Regions from separate parts of the Homo sapiens genome. Here region 2 is linked to region 1. The links are contacts of gene promoters, found by promoter capture Hi-C in blood cells and fetal thymus (Javierre and others, 2016). All regions are on one chromosome and are shown on one strand. The core of a region is centred on a gene start or on the middle of the fragment in contact, and the rest is flanking DNA. Distances in the headings are between cores, read along the strand shown.

The links. The method cuts DNA at HindIII sites, captures the fragments that hold promoters and counts their contacts. A CHiCAGO score of 5 or more calls a contact.
Region 2: a fragment that was not itself captured here is called in contact with the fragment with the promoter of LINC01888 in region 1 in 1 of 17 cell types (monocytes); the score reaches 7.9 in monocytes.

What each region holds. Positions count from the first base shown.
Region 1 is chr2:68,830,559-68,833,683 of GRCh38, forward strand. LINC01888 (long intergenic non-protein coding RNA 1888) reads left to right here and starts at 1,450. Exons shown (of 2, transcript NR_183895.1): 1 at 1,450-1,594. LINC01890 (long intergenic non-protein coding RNA 1890) reads right to left here. Exons shown (of 4, transcript NR_183884.1): 2 at 2,274-2,492; 3 at 802-947. The HindIII fragment of the contact is 9,437 bases long and covers 1-2,574 here.
Region 2 is chr2:68,285,585-68,288,709 of GRCh38, forward strand. All of the region lies in intron 1 of PPP3R1-AS1 (PPP3R1 and CNRIP1 antisense RNA 1), which reads left to right. It also overlaps a transcript of CNRIP1 not described here. Among named protein-coding and RNA genes, the nearest start is that of CNRIP1, 33 kb to the right of the region's middle. The HindIII fragment of the contact is 2,324 bases long and covers 304-2,627 here.

The sequences.
Region 1 (3,125 bases), core at 200-2,699:
TTTGAGAATTCCTAAATATATGGGGACACTGTTTACTTGCTTTAAGGATTGACTCTAAACATAGGCAAAGAAGATAAGCACTTGAGGGCCTGATTTAAAGAGTCCCGAGAATAGCTCTGATGAAAATCATCTCTTTTTCAGACTCATGTTAGATTGAGAAATCCCTACCAGTAGCCTTTGGAATATTAACCACAAACGTGATATTTCTGGGAGACTCCATGAAGCCTCCATTAATCGTTAGTATCATCTTTATATTAGTTATCTGCTTCCCAGCAGAAAGCTGTGTAATGAAGGAACGAGAGCCTGGCCAGATAAGCAGTGCTGTGGGTGGAGGAACAGATCAAGAGTATGGATGTTGGCCAGGCACAGTGGCTCACGCCTGTAATCCCAGCACTTTGGGAGGCCGAGGCGGGCAGATCACGAGGTCAGGAGTTCGACGCCAGTCTGGCCAACATAGTGAAACCCTGTCTCTACCAAAAATACAAAAAATTAGCCGGGTATGGTGGTGTGCGCCTGTAATCCCAGCTACTCTGGAGGCTGAGGCAGGAGAATCACGTGAACCTGAGAGGCGGAGGTTGCAGTGAGCCGAGATCTCGCCATTGCACTCCAACCTGGGTGACAGTGGGAGACTCTATCTCAAAAAAAAAAAAAAAGTATGGATGTTACCTAGGAGTATTGCAGTGTGGGCCCCTGGCTGCCTTAGGTGGGGTGAGGGTGCAAAAATCAGGCCTTAAAAAGGGAAACGGGGACTCATCATCAGGGTGGACGGAGAAATGGTTTGCCCCCACATACACCTGATACCTGCTCAAAGTTGGCACTTGTCCTCCTTCCTTCTCTCTGTTCTCCCTTATTGATGTCCTTTCAGTCCTGCTGAGGCCAGCCCATGCTAAACATCACCCTGGTTCTTGGGTCTTTGTTCAGCATCAGTAGCAATATCATGACAATAACTACCAATAATAAGCAACAAATACCATTTTAATACTTTCTGGTGAGCACTGTATCCATGTCATTTCCTTTAAATCTCAAATCAACTCTTTTCTGATTGCAATCAAACCTGTTTTACTGAGGTCTCAATGTGGCTTAGCTAGGAACTGAAGCGTATATACAGTCTACACAAGGCTACATTATCCTTGCCCTCACATAGGGAGGAAGTACAACATAGAAAATGACCCCTTGGCAGAGATGGACTAAAGCAAAATCTGCAAAGACTTTTTCTTTAAAAGGCTGGCAGGGATTCTGGAAAGAACCACTAACTGCCTTGTCTGACTCAGCATCAAGATGGAAAAATATACAGAGGCTGTTGCCTTCCCCACAGCCTAAGTCAAATCCACCTGCTTGCTCTGAGGCTGTCTGGGAGGCCACACATCACCATGCCCTTTCCTGGAGTCAATTCTTGGTCCCATGTCATTAGCCCCACCCTCGAAAGAACTCTGGGAATGGGGTTGCCTTGGAGTCCCCGGTTCCGTGTGGCTAAAGAGTGAGCCTCTCATATCTCCATGCTGAATTTCCTCACTCATTCACAACCCTCCTTTCCATTTCAAGAAATCTTTCTGTTCCCACAAGCCTGGGAGGGCCTTTGAGTGGGGCATATTGGGTAAGTTTGAAGGAGTACTGCCAGTGAGACCTTCAAAAGACTCTGTGTGAATGGGCTGGTGTTGGTGGGAGGAAACAGGGTCACAGATTCCCCTTCCCTTCCCCCTTGTAAGATGTGTCATCAGTTAAATATAGGCTCTGGCCCTGTGGACGTTTACAGGCTAAGACAGCCCGCCCTGACTGGGGCTCACAGCTTCTGAGAGGAGGACACTGGGATGTCTTCAGCCCATTTCACGTGGGCTGACTGTTTCCAAAACACTCCTGGTGGGTCAGCGAGCAGAGGAAGTGTTACCATGTGATCACTTTAGAAACACCCACCTAATGACGCACTAACACGGATTTGCCCTCTGTTTTTCACATTTGATCATTCCTGACACTTTGGCGAGGAAACAAAACCCTATTTCTCTTAGAAGTCACTCCTTCCCTGGATGTGAAAGAGGGCAGTGGTTTCCCTGTCAGTCCTCTTTTAGGGAAAGATCTGGGTGAGCACATGACCCAGCTCAGCTGGTCTGGGGCTGGACACAGACACAATTGTGAGAACTTGAACTGACTCACCAGGAAGCAGGTGGTTGGGACTAGGTACTGTTGTCTATTTCAGTGCTAGATATTGCCTTTAATGAAAAACTAGCCCCAATCAGAAAAAAGCCAACACCACGCTCTGCAATACTAAGTTGACTCACCTGTTGAAATGCTGTTTATTAAGCAAAACCAGTATCCTCAGAATTCCAGCTTTCACTTTCAAGTTTCTTATGTGGGATTTCATAGTATTGGGCCCAGTGATGTGTACATCAATGGTTTGGCTTGCTGTTTATGCTACTTATTTACTCGAGCAGTCACTCTGGTGTGTTCCCATGGCTTTTCTGAAAGTATTAGAATACAGCTCCCAAAGAATGTGAGTGCTATTGGAGAAATAAAATACATGGAAATCATATGGCATCCAGCAATTGCTATGCCTATCTTGAGATAGCTGATCCCTAGATAAGCTTGGTAGTTGTGTTACCAATGATGTCTTTTCTTAGTACACATAGATTGTACTCAAGGAATAGCAAAATGTTACAACACTGATTCTTCCTCCTATAGTTAATGGCATTTTAAAAGAGTTATGCTTGACTAAAGACATAGTTTTTAAAAATGCAAATATTGAGTGCTTTCAATTCCCTAAGCATGGTGTTTTCTGCTTTACCTGCAATGTATTAATTAATTTTCACAGAAAACTATGAGGCAGCGGCTACTATCATCCCCATTTTACAGATGAGAAAACCGAGACTTAGAAAGGTTAAGTAATCTGCTCAGGCTCACAGTTCATATCCCATTTCTAAGAGACATTTTTTTTTCATTCTAATACTTTTGAAATTCAGTATGTATTTTATAGTTGATTGGTGCATTTAAAATGGAACATCTTACAAATTGATGGCTACTTAGAACTGAGAAAATATAACTGACAGAAGCAAGCATCAAAACCACGTCTACCTGATTCTAGTATTGGATCATCCAACCACAGTGGCTTGAGTGTCAAAGGAAACAACCTGTGT
Region 2 (3,125 bases), core at 216-2,715, 540 kb before region 1:
TTGAGGCTGCAGTGAGCCAACATCGCACCACTGCACTCCAGCATGGGCTGTTACAGAGCAAGACCCTGTCTCAAAAAAAAAAAAAAAAGAAAAGAAAAGAAAAGAAAAGAAAGAAAGGCAGAACCTTTAGGCAGCAGATGTCCACCAGAGGTATGTGTGCATGTGTGTGCATGTGCACGTGTGTGTACAGCCATATGGGTTTTAATACATGTATAGATTCATTCAACCACTGCCGCTATCAGGATACAGAACAGTTCCATCGCCCCAGAAAGCTCCCTCCTGCTACCTTTTTGAGTGTATCCAAGCTTTATTTTAAGGCTTTAATCTTATAAAAATCTCCAGGGAAAGGTGAAATGCTATAGAAAAGTTAAAGATAGTCTGTGTTCAATTATTTGAAGAAACTTGTCATTCAGGGTTAGATTGTTTCTATAGGGTGAGGACAAATTCCCATTACCTATATAGGTACTTACGTTGTCTTTTCAGGCAAATTTGGTTAGCTATCCCCTCCTACCCTGTCAAGCAGTAGCTATCTAGCCCACAATAAACTCTCTGAGTGGAAGCCTGATGATTTAAAGTTATGTCTACCATACCCATTATTTTTCGACTAACAATAGGAATCCAAAATCATTAGCTTGTAGCCATGAAAATTCTGAAAATAGACTCTCAGTGTGGCCATATGAGTTACATTTCAAAGTGTAACCATCTAGATTTGGGGAAATTAAGGACCTTACGAACACACACACACACACACACACACACACTCATATACACATTATATAGATCTACTTCACACCAAACACAAGCATAAAAAATAAACTGGGAAAAGATCAAGATTCCAACTGGGTTTTGAGTTGGAAAAAACATTAGTATTTTAAAATATATGTTTTGTCAAAGAAAGTGACTATCTGATAAAGGTAAAGGAAAAATCAGCTGTTTCAGTTTTGGGAAATTCACAATGCTCCTTTGTTTAGTGGGCTTGTTGAACTTTTCTGAACATTCAAAAAATATTTTTGTCAAATAATTTGGACATTTCAAATTCTGCTTCAAGCATGAAGGGAGGTTGCCACTAACACCATTGTTACCTCTTGGGCCACGGTCTCCCTTGGGATGGTCATTTCAGAGGGAGGAAATACCCTTGGCTGTCAGAGGCCAAGGGTCTATAAACTTCTAGATGAGGGTAAGCGTGTTGAAGTCATACTGATTTGGATTTTCATTCTGTCTCCTCTGCTCACAATAGCTATATGACCTTGGGCAGGTAGCCTAACCTCTCTGAGCTTAATAGCCTCATTTTAAAAATGGAAATCATATGTACTCTTCAGGATGATTTTGAAAATTAAATGAGATCATATATATAAAATGTCTGCCATACAAAAGATAGTCAATGAATGCTAATTTTGTCTTTCCTTTCCTCATTTAATTCATCTCTCTACCTCCAAATACAGCCTTATCAAAACTAGGTCAGTCATAATTTATCTTATTTTTTAAGACCATGGAAGGAAAAAAAGATGGTTTAATCCTTCTCCTAATCCATATTGTGACTTCTAACTTTCTCTGGCAGGAAATGATTTCTTAGAACCAACTTCAGACCATTACTTTTTTCTTTTTGGAGAAGTTTTACTTTACTGTCTTCAGCAGAAAAGGAGAGTAGGTGGTCTGGATTCCCCAGATGTGGATCAGGAAAGGCAAGGTTATGCTGAAGTAATGAACAACCCCAGAATCTTAGTGATGGTTTATAGAATAGTTTCTTGTTCATCTCTCCACCCCAAAAAAGCAGATTGATACAACATAAAGGACAGATAAGGGATAAAGCAAATATACCAAAATGTTAACTGTGAAATTCAGGTGATAGATATGGGAATGTGTGTTATGCAAGTCTTTCAACTTTTCTATACATTTCAACATTTTTCACGATAAAATATTGGGAGAAAAGTTTATTTCTCACTTATGCTATGGGTCCAACAAAAGGTGGCTAGGGTTCCATGCCGTATCTTCTCACTCCAGGACCTAAGGTGATCAATCATCTTGAAAGTGGCTATTTGCCATGGCAAAGGGAAAGAGAGTTCTGTTGGCATTGCACAGACTGTTGGATAATTTCAGCCTGAAATGACATGTGTCACTTCTGCTTACAACTCATTGGCCAGAGCTACCAGCACATGGCCTTAGCCCAGGCCATGGAGGTCAGATCCTATCATGTGCCTCGACGGGGGAGGGCTGGAAACATTTGGTAAGCAGCACAAGTAATTACCCTGATGAAAATAAACAACTTCATAAACTTCAAAGAATAACATACCTTAGGACTATCATTAATAATACGAACGTGACAAGGCAAATTCACTGGAAGCAATGTCAGTAAAAGAATTCAGAAACTTTTTTCTTTCTCATCCACTTTCCTTCTTTTAGTCTCCTTTAAAGGGAGCAGGAGAACTAACCCCGTAAAGGCTAACAGATTGCAAACTTCTTGCTGGCTGGTTTGCAGCCGGCCGGCCAGCCAGCCAGCCAGCCAGCCAGCTCTTTCTAGAATCTCATCACCTTTTTGTTGAGTCAGCTCATTTTCCCTGAGTCAGTAAGAAGATGTGGAAGCTGTCCAGAGATCTTAAGAAAAGCAGAAGTTAGGTTGAGGGTGGTAAAGCTTTTCAGAAATAGGATAATAAAATATCTGAGTAAACAATATTTCAATATTTTTCTTGACTCAACGTTTTAGAGGAGTCAGGAAAGACTTCATAGTGACATTTAAGCTGGCACTTGAAGGCGTTTGCAAGGTAGGAAATGGAGTAGGGCGTTCCAAGCAGAGGGAACAGGCTGTGCAGTGGCAAGGAAACTGCTTTGGACTTGGTAGATCTGCAGGAGAATAAGAAATTCACTGTGACCAGAGACTAGAATGCCTGTCAGGATTACTGTTAAAGTACTAGCGTAGGGCCAAAAATACTGTATTTTTCATTTGTTAGCAAGTGGGAAATGAAATACCCTACTTGTTAAGGAAAAATTTTAGTCTTACCTAGTGCTCTAATAGTAGTTAACATGGCTTCAAAGAGAAAAGATTATATGCAAGTAATTTGCTATAAAGAGAACTATAGGCAAATGAGTTTCTAGCAACTGAATACTTCTGTTTGTTGGCAACAATTGTT